Linked DNA regions of Homo sapiens: all the other regions are linked to region 1. Evidence: promoter capture Hi-C in 16 types of primary human blood cells and fetal thymus (Javierre and others, 2016). All regions are on one chromosome and are shown on one strand. Each heading gives the region's core, a stretch centred on a gene start or on the middle of the fragment in contact. The rest is flanking DNA. Distances are from core to core; before and after follow the strand shown. Region 1 holds the start of FOXF1 (forkhead box F1). Region 2 overlaps LINC01081 (long intergenic non-protein coding RNA 1081). Region 3 has its middle 90 kb from the start of LINC01082.

What was found. The method cuts DNA at HindIII sites, captures the fragments that hold promoters and counts their contacts. A CHiCAGO score of 5 or more calls a contact.
Region 2: a fragment that was not itself captured here is called in contact with the fragment with the promoter of FOXF1 in region 1 in 1 of 17 cell types (endothelial precursors); the score reaches 5.1 in endothelial precursors.
Region 3: a fragment that was not itself captured here is called in contact with the fragment with the promoter of FOXF1 in region 1 in 1 of 17 cell types (M1 macrophages); the score reaches 5.3 in M1 macrophages.

What each region holds. Positions count from the first base shown.
Region 1 is chr16:86,507,681-86,512,391 of GRCh38, reverse strand. It overlaps FOXF1 (forkhead box F1), which reads right to left and starts at 1,865. Exons shown (of 2, transcript NM_001451.3): 1 at 844-1,865. The coding sequence starts at 1,822. It overlaps FENDRR (FOXF1 adjacent non-coding developmental regulatory RNA), which reads left to right and starts at 3,532. Exons shown (of 4, transcript NR_033925.1): 1 at 3,532-3,737. RefSeq lists an enhancer at 1-372. The HindIII fragment of the contact is 3,241 bases long and covers 1-3,166 here.
Region 2 is chr16:86,243,850-86,248,352 of GRCh38, reverse strand. The region is part of intron 3 of LINC01081 (long intergenic non-protein coding RNA 1081); the gene reads left to right. Among named protein-coding and RNA genes, the nearest start is that of LINC01081, 40 kb to the left of the region's middle. The HindIII fragment of the contact is 1,027 bases long and covers 1,351-2,377 here.
Region 3 is chr16:86,103,575-86,108,190 of GRCh38, reverse strand. No RefSeq gene overlaps it. Among named protein-coding and RNA genes, the nearest start is that of LINC01082, 90 kb to the left of the region's middle. The HindIII fragment of the contact is 1,160 bases long and covers 901-2,060 here.

The DNA.
Region 1 (4,711 bases), core at 616-3,115:
CCTCCTGGGGCTGCTGACAGCTGACCCTGGACTGGCCCTGGCAAGCTCACTCCAGCTTTTTCCAGAGCTGGGCCTGCAGGCTGCGGGGGGCCTGGGGCAGAATCAGGAGGCGAGGCTGCTGCATCTCCCTTGGCAGATGCTTCTGCATGTTCGGGGTATTGGGGTATCAGGGGTGTTGGGGGTGTGGGGACCTGAAAACTTGGATCCTAAAAAACAAGGAGCCCCCATGGCCCGGTCTGCAGCTCTGACCCTCCGGGGCCTGGCCACGGCACCCTCCTGCCTCAGTCACCACAAAATGCCCCTGGACTCAGCTGTGGGTCTGCCAGGTCTGGTCCCCTGAAAGGCCGGGGCTGAGCCTCTGAGCGCTGGCCCAGCGGCTTTGGGCCTAACACCTTCCGTTCCGCCCAGCCCCAGGCAGAGGCAGCCCTCCAGGCAGCCTGAGGGCCACCACCAGGGAGGGACAGCCATCTGGCCAGCGCTGGGAGCCTTGGGTCCATCCCAGGATCTTTCCAAGCTGTGAGGGGACTTAAGGGACACAAAAGGACTTAGGGCACTGGGGTCTGGGACATCTGGCTCAGGACCAGCCTACCTGGTCAGGCCTGGAGCAGCTGGCAGCTGGAGTTCGAACAGAAAGAGAAACAGATTGGCCCAAACTAGGGTCAAGAGCGGTAGTCACTCTTCGAAGGGGGAGAGGTGGGGCCAAGAGACACCTTGGGGAGCTGGTGCCTCCCCTCAGCCTTGGGGTTCCGACCACAGAAGTGGAGGGGCTCGCCCCAGCTGGGTCCCGCTGCCACTCAGACTCGACTTCCCGGGGACCAGGGCGCCCTCGGCCTCCCCACTCACCTTGCAGCTCGGCTGGGGCGTTGTGGCTGTTCTGGTGCAGATACGGCTGCTCCAGGGAGTGCGTGGAGAGGCTGCCGGACAGGGGGTTGGCCGCGGGGTTACAGGGGGACAGGGGCTGCTGCTTGATATAAGAGGCGCCGCTGTTGAGCGCCGCGGACGCCGAGGGCGGCCAGGCCGCCGCCGAGCCCGAGTAGACGGCGTGCGGCTCCATGACCCCACCGGCGCCGGTGGGCAGCAGCGGGGAGGCGGGCACCGAGCTGTCGTGGTGCGGGTACTCGCCGGCCGCCGCGCCGCCGCAGCCGCCCATGTACGAGTGGCCGCCGTTGGAAGGCAGGTGGGGCACCGAGTGGCTGGGCAGGGCCATGCCGTCCACGTTGCCCGGCAAGTGGCCGTTCATCATGCCCAGGCCGCCCTCCAGCGCCAGGCTGTTGGGCGGGCACGAGAGGCCGCCGGCCGAGCCCTGGAAGCCGTAGGTGTCCGGGAGGTGGTTGAAGCCGAGCCCGTTCATCATGCTGTACATGGGCTTGAGCGCCTGGCATTTCCTTCGGAAGCCGCGCGGCCGCCGCCGAAAGGAGCCCTCCTCGAACATGAACTCGCTGGCCGGGTCGATGGTCCAGTAGTGGCCCTTGCCGGGCCGCCCAAGGCCCTTGGGTAGCTTGATGAAGCACTCGTTGAGCGAGAGGTTGTGGCGCACGGAGTTCTTCCAGCCCTGGTAGGAGCCCCGGAAGAAGGGGAAGCGGCTCTGCAGGAACTGGTAGATCTCGCTCAGCGTCAGGCGCTTGGTGGGTGAACTCTGGATGGCCATGACGATGAGCGCGATGTAGGAATAGGGCGGCTTCTCCGGGCGCCGGATGCCGGCGTTGGTCTTCTTGGCCTTGGACGGGCCGGACGACGCGGGGTCCATGGCCGCGCCGCCTCCCCCGCCGCCGCCGCCGCCGCCGCCGTGCGGTGGCTGCTGCTTCTCGGGCGCCGAAGACATCGGGTGGCTGCTGCCGCCGCCGCCGCTGCCGCCGCTGCTCTGCGCCGCGGACGGGCCGGGAGGAGGAGGAGGAGGAGGAGGAAGAGGACGACGGGGGGGAGGAGGGCGAAGGGGAGGGGGCTGCGCGCGCGGGGCTGGCTGCACCTCTGCCGTCATCGGCGGCCACTTCTCCCGAGCGAGCCGCGGCGCGCCCGCCCCCGCGCTCCCGCCCGCCCTCCCCGAGGAGCTGCTGGATCCGCCGGCGGTTGGCTCAGAGCCCCTCTCTCTCCAACTCCCGCCTCCCCCACCTCTCTCCTCCCTCTTTCTTTCTCGCCCTCCCACAAGGAAAGGAGCCGAGCTGAGGCCGAGGGCAGCCCGGGCGAAGGCCGTGAGGAAGCTACCCCCGCCGGTATTTTTTGGGGGGAGGCACCACCTCCAGGTCTTACGGCCGTGCGCCCCAGCCGGGAGCAGCCCTGAGTCCCCGCCGCCCGCGGCGCTCGGCTCCGAGATTCCGGGCGAGGCAGCCTTCACTCCATCTCCGCTCGGCTGCGTCTCGCGGGTCGGCCTAAGACCCTCCCGGAGTTCCCTCCCTCCGTCCCTGCCCCCCTCGGGCCCCCGCGTTGGTGGGCGCTTAAAGAGCCCCCACTCTCGCCGCCCCGCGGCCGCCAGCAGAATCCGCCCCGCCTCCACCAACCTGGCGAGCAAGTGTTAATGCGCCCTCCGCCCGCGGTTCAGCCCCGGTGCGCGCTGGACCCCGCCTTCCCCGCCCGGGCGGCGCGGCGGGAAACGCTCCCTGGGCCGGGGCCTTCCCCGACGCGCACAGCCCTGTAGCAAATCGCAAGTGCGGCGGCCTCCCGGTCGTGACCATCGCAGGCACAGCCGGCTCGACTCCGGTCCTCGCGGCCGGCCGGCTAAGTTCCCGCGAGGGACCGCCTACCCACTCTCCCCGCCCCGGGAAGAACTGCGCCGCTCCCGGGATTTTTCGGACTCGCCCAGCAGCTTGCGAGCGGGCGGGCAGCCGCCGGGGCAGAGCGCAGGCGGAAAACGAAAGCGCAGCACGAGTCGCGGCCGCTTTGTCTCGGGCGCCGCGGGCCTGACGGGGGCGAGTGAGAACCCGCTGGCCCAGAGGCGACCCAGACCGCACAGGCCCCTGAATAAGCGGCGTGCTCAGTCACTCACCCGTGCGCGCACACCCTCGCGCTCTTGTCCACACATTAGCACACACATACATGTCTTGATGCACATGCAAACCCGGTAAATTACGCAAACAGACGTGTAAACACACCCATGCGTGTGTGCACACTCATATGCAGAGGGCGCTCAGGCATGTGCGCACCCACTAATGCACTCGTTGACACGGAAGCTTAAGGCCCACAGGAGCTTAAGTTCGCACTCACTCCCACTCACGCGTACACACGCCACGCTCGGATCTGAACTCACACGTAGTTCAGTTGCCCTCCCCCACCCCCAACACACACTGAAAACCCGCCTATTTGGCCCCGCGGCCCCGTTTTCAAAGCGCAGGTTCCGATTTCCCGAGAGATGGCAAAGGCCCTGGCAGGAAGTTTACAGGGTTTAACGTAAACAAGTTCTGGGGGATTCTTTAATAATAATAATAGAGAATTCCGCGTGCGCAGGGCGGGAGGGGGGAGTTGGCCTAATGCCCCTGTGGGCTCGGCCTGCCGCCGCCGCGGGGCCTCTGACACTGCGCGCCAGGCCAGGTTCCTGAGAGCAGACAGCGCGGGCTGGGAGCGCCGGCAAGGGCGGCCCTCGCGCACCTGGCTGCCAGCCCGCAGGGGGCTCGCACGCAGACCTGCCCTTGCCACCTCAGCGCTCGGGTGCGGGCTGGGGGCGGTGGAGCCACGAAAGGTGGTGCCGAGAGCGGAGCGCAGGACAGCGCAGGAGCCCCGGCGCATCGCGGCGCGCACAGACCCAGGTGAGTGCTGCTCTCGCAGCGACTGCTGGCCGGGCGCGGCCTCTCCCTCCAGGGTTCCGAGTTGAGAAGAGGGGGGCGAGGGGTGTTTTCGCGGGTCATCGCGAAGAGCCTAGAGGCCAAGCCCCAGCGCGAGCTGGGGCGAGAGGCGTGTGCCGGGCTCGCAGCACGGCCCGCGGCGCGGCGCGTTCAAAGCCTACCCGCCTCTCGGTTTTCTCCGGACTCCTTGTCTCCCGCTAACTACCCGCCCCCACCTTCCTGGCTCGGACGCCTTCATTTTCGGCGGGAGACGCCTGTCGCCTTCGGGGCGCCTGGCACGTCGGTGAGAGGAGCTGGGGGGCTCGCCGGCGCAGCCTGCCGGGCAGTCGCCGCCTCCTCCGCCAGATCTGCGCTCGCGGGAGAAGAGAGCCGCCTTCCCGCGCTGCCCTTCCGCTGGCCTCTCTGGGTCTCCGCGTGCAGACAGCCTGGCCCGCCTAGGGAAAGAATGAGTGTGGGACGTGACCCGTAGTGTGTGGTTGTGCATTCACGCAGGTAAACGCTCTCTGGCAGACCCGCTACCACTTCACACAACCAGCTCAGCCTCCGCGCACACAGACACGCTCCGCACCGCCCACGGCCTCAAACACCCTTCCCAGCGACCCTCACACAGCTCAGGCGCTCCCAACCCTTGGACCAACACACAGGCCTGCCCAACGGGGAGGGCACACTTTGGTTTAAGTGCACACTTCATGCACGCCCACATGTTCTCCACTGCGCGTTCGCCCACGCATAGCCAGGCGCCACGCGCAAATAATCATAGGTACCGCCGCTCCATACGTGCGCACGCGTCCACGAACACAAGCATTCTCACATTCTCTCCCAACTTTTGTGTGTGTGTGTGTGGCAAATGGCAGTTGCAGATGAGGAGACCCTGGCCTCCGGAGGAAAGTTCTGTTCCCAGGAAGGGGTCGCTACTGCCGACTGCCAGAGCACATCTG
Region 2 (4,503 bases), core at 615-3,114, 260 kb after region 1:
TATCCCAGACCCCTACACGGGCAGTGGGACATCCAGATCGGGTTTGGACTGCGTCCTGATTTGGAGCACAGTGAAGTCTATTCTTCTCAGGCTGCAAACCAGCCCATTCCGGGGCATTCACATTTCAGCTGGGTTTGCGGTCACATGCACGTTGTTCAATTTCACCGAAATCAGCAGCACTCGGGGTGTCGATCTCAGCCCTGTGGGTTCAGTGACCATCAGTGCCAATTACATGAAATGCCAGTTGCCACGCAATTCTACCTTCGCACAGGCCAGCCAAAGAAAAAAATGTGTTCCTAAAGTTAATTAAAACCAAACCAAGACCACATGGCTCCTTTTGGGGGAACTGACCCCGGCTCCTTTCCCATCTCCATTTCCCTCTCGTGGTGTTGAAGCTGATCCCACCCAGGGCTCATTTTGATTTTTGCACAATTCACCTTTGTTGGGATCTAGGCTCAATTTGTTTGAGTAGTTGGTTGAACCAACAGCCCACTTGGATATTTGCATTTAATAGGCAAATGGGATCATATATCTGCTGGACGAAGTGTCTCTACTGTGGGGATTTTCACCTTTGCAGAGGCACGTGTAAGTTCCAGGATTATGAAGTATCAAGTTATATTAACCAGGACAAAGGGAGGAGGGAGGATGGAGGGACACAGACCGTGGGATATTGGGTTACTTTCGAGGCCAGTTGATTTCTACAGCCTGTCTGAGCTTCCTGCATGTCTGTGGAGATAAAATTGATTGTGAATCAATTGGCCAGAAGTTTCTCCTGTGAGATTCTGAGCTTGGCTCATTCCCTGGTGTACCTTTGATTTTCTGTTGAGCAAAGCCTTGGTTAACAGAACAATAATTAGTCATTAAGAGCACACCATGCATTTCGGAAACGTCCCTGATGGTTGATAGAGTTTAATCTTACCATTCTGGGCTATAATTTTTTAAAATGTTTTCAAAGTAGCTTTTTAAAATTTTATTGATTTATTTTTAAGCAGCTTTATTGAGATATAAATTCAGATACCGTGCAAGTCACTCATTTAAAGCATGACATTTAATGATCTGCGGTGTGTCACATTATTCACTTTCTAAGAACTGTGGTAAAATATGTATAACGTAAAACTTAATATGGTAACCATTTTAGGTGTACCTAAATGGTGGTGTTAATTGCCTTCACAATATTATGCAACCATCACCACCATCTATCCCTAAAGCTTTTACCTCACCCCAAATAGACATGTTTCTACCATTTAGCCTCCCCACAGAGTGTGAGAATATCCAGGTGAAAAATGAAGCGATACTGTCAAGTTTCCTAAAGGAGTTACCTCCCAAGTGGCTCATGGGTTCCTGGAAGCTTCCGGGTCTTGAGCTTGAGCTCCGTGAGGAAGGGAATGTGGCGCGGTGCTGCCAAGATCTGCAACGGTGCTTGGCACATGTAGGTGTACAGTGCATACGAGTGAGATTTGTTGTCGGGAATATCTTAAAATTGGAGTGGCTGTGTTGGAACAGCCGTGGTTAGGTGTGAAGGGTGCCCGCTCCCTCCCAAGGGGCTCTGTGGCAGGACAGGAGCCTGTGGGGGATTGTCAGCCATGGAGGCATTGGGTCTCTGTGGCACTATGGGGGGCTGATGGGAACTGGGTCCATCTCGTGTGTTCTGGGAACTCCCAGGGCTTTGAGCCAGCTGCCCCCTACCTGCTTTCCCCATCTCAGGCAACAGTCATGTGGCTTACATCTGCCACGACACTTGATATTTTTCTAAGATGTCTTCCAAAATAAGTAGAAAGAGAGGTTATTGCCCCATTTCACAGATGAACTAACTGTGGTCCCCAGGCAATCTCAGGGCGAGATACCCCTGGGAGCCAAGAAGAGGAGCCTGCCTTTTCTCCTTTGATCAATCATCAAGGTTACAAATAGTCACCCAGATGTCACGAAAGCCCTCACCTGTGGCCTGCTTGGAATCAGCATGTTTCCAGACGGTGTGGCGGTTTTACCTGAAACATGGCTGCTTACCCTGTGACTCTTCTCCCTTCTAAAGGTGGTTGCTGGTCTCCTTCCCTGTGGACATTGACTTGCTCCGGTGCATACAATGAGGTAGAAATGAGCCAGTGTGGTTTCCAGGATGGAGTATAAATGTGATGCAGCTCCTGCCTCGCCCTGTCTGTCTTAGGTGCCCACCGTTAGAGCCCAGTCACCATGTACAGGAACCAGGCCACACAAGAGGCCACACGTCCTCTGGCCACAGCCCCTGCTGTGGTCCCGGCCACGCTTGTGTGTCAGTGCACAGCTGTATGGGGGACCCAGCCCCAGCCTTTGAGCCTGCCCAGTAGATGCCATCAGTGGAGGAACAAGTAAAGGAAACATCAGTGTTGTAAGCCAGCAAGCTTTGGGCTTCTTTGCTGTGCAGGGGTGGAACCTAGGAGTGATGATATCACCCCTTGTGATGTGTGAGTTCCAGGTTCCTCCTGGGGCTCCCTTCAACTTCCCTTCAAACCCTCTCTGCCTGGCTTCTATCTGTCTGTCCTCCTCCTGGTACTTTATGGATTTAACGAAGAAAAGTTAATCATCATTTGCCACATATAGGACAAAACTTTAACCCTCGTGTATTAAATGGGGGATGATAATGTGCTGCTTCTGGGAGGAAATTAAACTTACACAGCAGAAGCGTCCACTGTTCAGCATACCCATGGACACCACCATGGTAGACAGACCCGTAGGCGGACCCAGGACCCCACACCCTGGTGTGCACACCCTGTGGGAACCCCTTCCCTGAGAGCAGCCAGGGCCTGTGACTGCTTCTGATCCATAGGGTCTGGCAAAGGTGACAGACGTGTCTGGTTCCATACACGTGGTTATGGGGTGGCGCTGCCTAAGGCTGTGGCCCTCAGTCGGCTGGAATCCACCCACCATGCTGGCTGTGAAGAAGCTGGGCACACTGCTGAGCCCTGTATGGTGGGGAACTGTAGTTGACCTCTAGTTGTGGAAGGCAGCCTCCAGCTGATGGCTAACAAATGAAACAAAATGAAATGAAGCACTCCAAAACTGTAGCTTTCAGTCCAACAGCCCTACAGACCTGAAGTCTTGCAAAAGCCTGAGCAAGCAAGAAACTGGATGTTTCCCCACTCAGGCGTTCAGATGAGACCAGCCCCAGCCAATATGTTAATCAAAGCCCTGCAGAGGCCGCAACTGAGCTGGGCCCAGATGCCTGACTGTTTTTGCCAGCTGCTATGTGTATTGAAATGTGTCATGCAGCAGAGACCACCTTAATCCACATCGTCACCATGCCATGTCCAGCAGCTGTACAGGTCTCCTCTCTAGCCTCCTGTCCTCCACCCACCTGCAGCCCCCTCAGCCTTTTCTCAACCCTTCATTGTGGTGACCCTGTAAAAATGTAGGTCAGTCTGTGGCTCTGGCAGTGACAAGATAATTGTCATCAAGCTCATGGTTCACCGTCTACCTCCACCTGCCCCTCTGGCCATGTCTCCTGCTTCTCCCCATCCCTCCCAATAATGACAACTCCAGCCATGTGGGCCTTCTGTCTATTCCCCAAGCTCATCAAGCTCACTTGTACTTGGCACTAGCCATTCCCTCTTTCTGGAATGTTCTTCCCCCAAATCTCCACATGGCCGGCTCCTACTTGGCTGGGATGGCCCCTGTAGCCCACCCCTCCCCACGTACTCCCCTCCCCATCTCCTTTCATTTTCATCTCAGCTCCCACCACGACCTGGCATGCCTGGCTTTTTTTGTTTATTTTCTGGCCCCCACCCCAGTTATACTGTGTGCTTCCTGAGTTAGGAACTCTGTGCTATTTGTACCTGCAGCCCTGAGGATTAGGACACTCCTTGGCATGTGGTAGGAGCTCAGCTAGTATTTGCGGACTGTTCTGAAGTCCCCAGTGAGCCAGTGGTGGATAAAGTTATTGCCCGTCACCCCCATGACGTCTCTGCTCCCGTGCCAGCTGCCTTCCTCACAGCCGCCTTCCTTCCCCAGTGGGGAACACAATTCCATGGGCGGATGCTTGGGGCATTTTTATTTTAACAAAGAAACCAATGCAATGACTGTCTCTGTGGGGAGTTTTGGCTCTCCAGAGGCCGGGTAAGGGAGCGATTTATTTTGCGGCTGGTCTGTAAACCTCTCACCAGAGAGTACCTCTGAAGCTCCAGGGTGGCCAGCTCCACTCCAGGACAGGGGCCATTCATAAGTCTGTGGCTCCGACAGTGACAAGATAATGGTCTCCAAGCTCGTGGTTCTGGCTCCTCCTGTTTTCTTCCAGCCTGGCTGCCCGGAGCCTCTGGGTGATGGAGAGAGGCACATCTCTCAGGGCTGGTGCCAGCCACTGGACGGAAAGCTGCCTGCCAGGCAGCAGAATCAGAACATATGTTAAGTGGCTTTCAAGGACAGTGGGCAGGGCAGCAGCCTAGTTATTCGGCAATGTGCGTCAGGTCCAGATGGGCGATGGTGCCCTTACAGTTTTCGAGAAAGATGAGAATCCTGAAACACCAGGCACTCGCC
Region 3 (4,616 bases), core at 231-2,730, 400 kb after region 1:
AGTAGTAGTCATAGTAGTAGTAATGGTGGTAGTAGTAGTCATAGTAGTAGTAGTAATGGTAGTAGTAGTAGTAATGGTAGTAGCAAAAGTGGTAGTAGTAGTAGTAATGGTAATAGTAGCAGCAGTAGTAATGGTGGTAGTAGTCGTAGTAATGGTAGTAGTAGCAGTAGTAGTAATGGTGGTGGTAGTAGTAATGGGAGTAGCAGCAGTAACAGTACTAGTAGTAGTAATGGTAGTAGTAGCAGTAGTAGTAATGGTGGTAGTAGTAGTAATGGGAGTAGCAGCAGTAACAGTAGTAGTAGTAGTAGTAATGGTAGTAGTAGCAGTAGTAGTAATGGTGGTAGTAGTAGTAATGGGAGTAGCAGCAGTAACAGTAGTAGTAGTAGTAGTAACGGTAGTAGTAACAATTCCTCCAGTATTTATTGAGCATTTTTTATGTGCCAGGCACTATACCAAGTACTGGGGACACATTAGTAGACAAAAAGTCTCCACCTTCATGGAATTCACTTTCCAGCTGGAGGAAAACAGACACTCGATGAAACTCACTGTATGTTAGATAGACAAGCGTTACGAAGAAAAAAAAATCAGGGAGGGAGGATAAGACGTGTCAGAAGAGGGATGCTGACAGTGTTTAGAGACAGTGGCCAGGGAAGACCTCACCGACAGAAACCCTGAAGGAAGGGAGGCAGGAGCGCTCAGATCGCTGAGCACAGCATTTGAGGCAGAGGGAACACAGCATGCACAGCCCCGGCAGACGTGTGCCAGGCACGTGGGTGGGTCAGCCAGGCCCGTGCTGGAGCGGTGAGGAGGCAGTGAGAGATGGAGAGACAGGGTCTCTGCCGTCCCAGGCAAGGGCAGGCAGGAGACAGTTTCGCAAGGACCTGGAAGCCGTGGTAAGCTTGTCGGCTTTACTTCAGATGAGCTGGGAACCCCTGGGAGGGTAGAATCGATGCGTTGTGAGCACCCTGGCTGATGTTGGCGGGGGGACTGTGGGGATAAACACACAGAGGGAGCCCAGTTAGCAGGATTCCAGTGAGGAATTGGTGCCCCACAAGAGGTCACCAGGGAATTGGGAGAGGAAATTGGATTCTGGGTATATTGTGAAGGCAGAGCCGATAGGATCTGCAACAGACTGAAAGTGGCCTGACAAAGGAAAGATACAAGGTAGACCTCAGGGTGTTTGGCCTGAGCAACTGGAAGGAGAATAATCAGTTATTCTTTCTTTGATATCCAGCTGGTAACAAAACAGTAAAGGCCCTGGGTGGACTGTACAGCCCAGTATGGGGGGAACTCTTTAAAAACATTAGTGCAGATATGAAAAATGCGTATAAATGATAAAAGTGCTATGCAAGACAAAAGGAAAACGTGCACCCCATAAAAGTGCTTGCTCGAGGTGGGCAGGGGCACCTCGCCATTCTCTGCTGTGTCCCTAGTATCTAGGAAGCACCCAGTAACAGAGCAGCCCGTGCAAAAGAACCATTTGTTAGAACACAAATGAAAATGGACAAGGCAGGTCACAGTTAGTGAACTCTTAGTGTGTGGCAGGCACTGTGCAAAGTACTTTCATGTGTGACGTCTCAGATGATCTTCACAACAACCTTTGAGGTAAGTCCTGGCGGTACCCACATCTCATTGATCAGAAAATGGAGTCCCAGAGAGGCTAAAAACTTACGCAAGGTCAACAAGCAGGTAAGAAGCAAAGATGGGATTTGAACCCAGGCAATCTGGCTACAGAGACCTTGCTCTTCACAGTCACAGAATTCTGCCTCCAGTTAACCTTGCTGATCCAGCTGTGGGTCCACTCAATCATCCTCCAGCCAGCCAGCCCTCTACCTACACATTCATCCACTCATCCATCCACCCATCCACCCATCCACCCATCCGCCAAGCCATTCAAACTACCATCCGCTCACCCAACCATCCACCATCCACCAAACAGCACTTATTAAACACCAGCTGTGTGCCAGGCAATGGAGATAGAATAATGAGCAGACCACACAGGCTCCTCACGCTCCTGGCGGTGCCAGTCTGAAAGAGGGGCTGACAGGAAAGTGGAAGCTTGGAGGGTGAGTGGGTGAGCCATGGAGTAAACAGAGACACATCTGTTAGCCGGTGGAATTGTCTCCACCTGGAATGAACTGTCCTTGCATGTGGAAGCCAGAGCCTGGCCTGGAGTAGCTGAGAACCCGCTCAAAAGTTCTGCTGTGGGCCAGGCACAGTGGCTCACGCCTGTAATCCCTGCACTTTGGGAGGCCAAGGTGGGAGGATCACGAGGTCAAGAGATCGAGACCATCCTGGCTAACACAGTGAAACCCCATCTCTACATGGGGTTTCAAAATACAAAATACAAATTTCAAAATACAAAAAATTTCAAAATACAAAATACAAAAAAATTAGCCGGGCGTGGTGGCGGGCACCTGTAGTCCCAGCTACTGGGGAGGCTGAGGCAGGAGAATGGCATTAACCCAGGAGGCGGAGCTTGCAGTGAGCCAAGATCGCGCCACTGCACTCCAGCCTGGGCGAAAGAGCGAGATTTCCGTCTCAAAAAAAAAAAAAAAAAAGTTCTGCTGTGACATGGCTGACCCAGGAGGAAAATTGTGAAATTGTGCAGCTTGTTCACAAAGTCTCTCTATTTGGAAACTTCCAGCACCCACAATGGGGTCTATCACGCTATCCTCTGAATGCCAGAGCCTCCCACTCATGCTTCCTGAGCTCCAGAATGTTCTCTCCCTCATAGCCTGCTTGTCCTCTGCCTGAGAATCTCGAGTCCCTGCCTGTGCTAAAGGACACACTGGGTGCTAATAACTTGAGCAGATAACTCTAGGCCCTGTTAATATGCGAATGAAATCATCTTGTTAGGGGAGCAGGAGGATAAAAGGCTCTATTCTGAAGAAGCATTTGAAGGAGGTGTATCCAATGGTGGCATTGCTGGCACTGTGCTGGACAGCCTTTGCTTGACCACCAATCTTCATTCCTCCTGTTTCTGGGGTTAGACTCTCAATTTCCTTTTGGAAACTATCCCTATACCATTCTCAGTCCACAAGATTCAGGTGGCTGATGACAACACCTCCCAGTTTCAGGGGTGAACACGGGACCTAGGCCCAGACAAAAAAAGTCACATTGATTGGCTCAGAGATGGCACATGACCAAGCCAGTAAGAGTCAACCCCAGGACATTCCTCGAACAACGGATAATGAACAGGCTCTTCACACTGGCATTACTAAACGGATAGTGTGGAAGTCGAGTTGCCAGAGGCAAGCCCTTGGAGAAAAACTCCCTGAAAATGAAACCAACCTACAGCAAAATGGAACCAAGGGAAGGGAGAGGGCAGATTTTTACAACAGGATCTGAGCACCTGGATCCCACCATGCCTGAACTCCAAGGATGGGGTCCTTGTATTATATATTTTTCCATAGATGTAAAGTCATTCTGTCACTTAAAACTGAATGAATCCTGACTAGTATGACGTCAGAGGAGTCAGACAGGACCACATATAGGGCTATTCCTGTAGGGACACTTCCTCCAAGAAGGTCCCCTGACTCCATCTTCTCCTCTCTCAGGTAGATGTAAAGCCTCTCCCTGCCGTTTCAAGTGCCCCTGAGCTTCTCTAAACCTTTACTGGGCACTTCAGACTTAGGTATTATCAGGGGGTCACCTCCTCTGATAGAGTGTGAACTTCTGGGGGATAGAGAAAGAATGGAGGAGTCTGGAGAGATGTGCCCCTGAGAAGGGCACTTCCCGCTCTCAGGCTCTGTTTCCTCACCTGTTAAGGGTGGCCAAAAATATCAGCAATAAAAGCACCGTACAGTGTCACTGGAGGACTCAGTGGCTGCTGCAGGGAGCCCTGCAGAGTTCGCCTGCAGCCCTGAACATGCAATAGGTGAAAAGAAGGAGGGCTAGGCCCTAGGAAGTAACCCCACAGTGATTCAATAATTATCTTTATACTTCAAAACCATAGGGCCCCTCACTTTTTCAATAAAGCCGTTAGCTTGTCATTATATTTTGAAATGAGTGAAATTAGGCAATGTACTGTACATAGGCCAGCTTCCCCTCCCAATGTCAAGAGAAGAAAGAAAGACAGAGAGAGAAGTCAGGAAGGATATAACCAAAGTGTTAATGGTGAATTAATTATTTCTGGATGGTGGGATTTCAGATTACTTTAATCCTTTTTGTTTAGCATTTTATCAATTTCATATCATGATGATACATTCCTTTTCTAATCACATCAAAATTAATTTTATTTTAGAGGAAAGAATGAATTGAAAACAGAAATAACTTGGACTTCAAAGTTGGCAGGAGAGAATGAGTTGGCCACTGACATAATAGAAGCAAGGTGGAGGGGATTTTCCAGGGGAGGAACACTAACTTGCTGGTGTTATTGTTGTTGTTGGGAATTTCAGTCCATTGAACTTTATCTAAAATGGCGGTGAACGTGGGTTTTTGGTTTGAGTTGTTTTGTTTTGTTTTGTTTTGGCTAAGTCTGTAAAGAAAGTAGGCTGCTAAAGCCCAGTGCAGCTTGGAAAACAGAAATAGACAAGGTGCCTGAACTAAGAATATCAGAGTTTTCAAATGATAGAGGCTGCTGATGTAGATTACAGATGCTGAGCCTGAAGAGA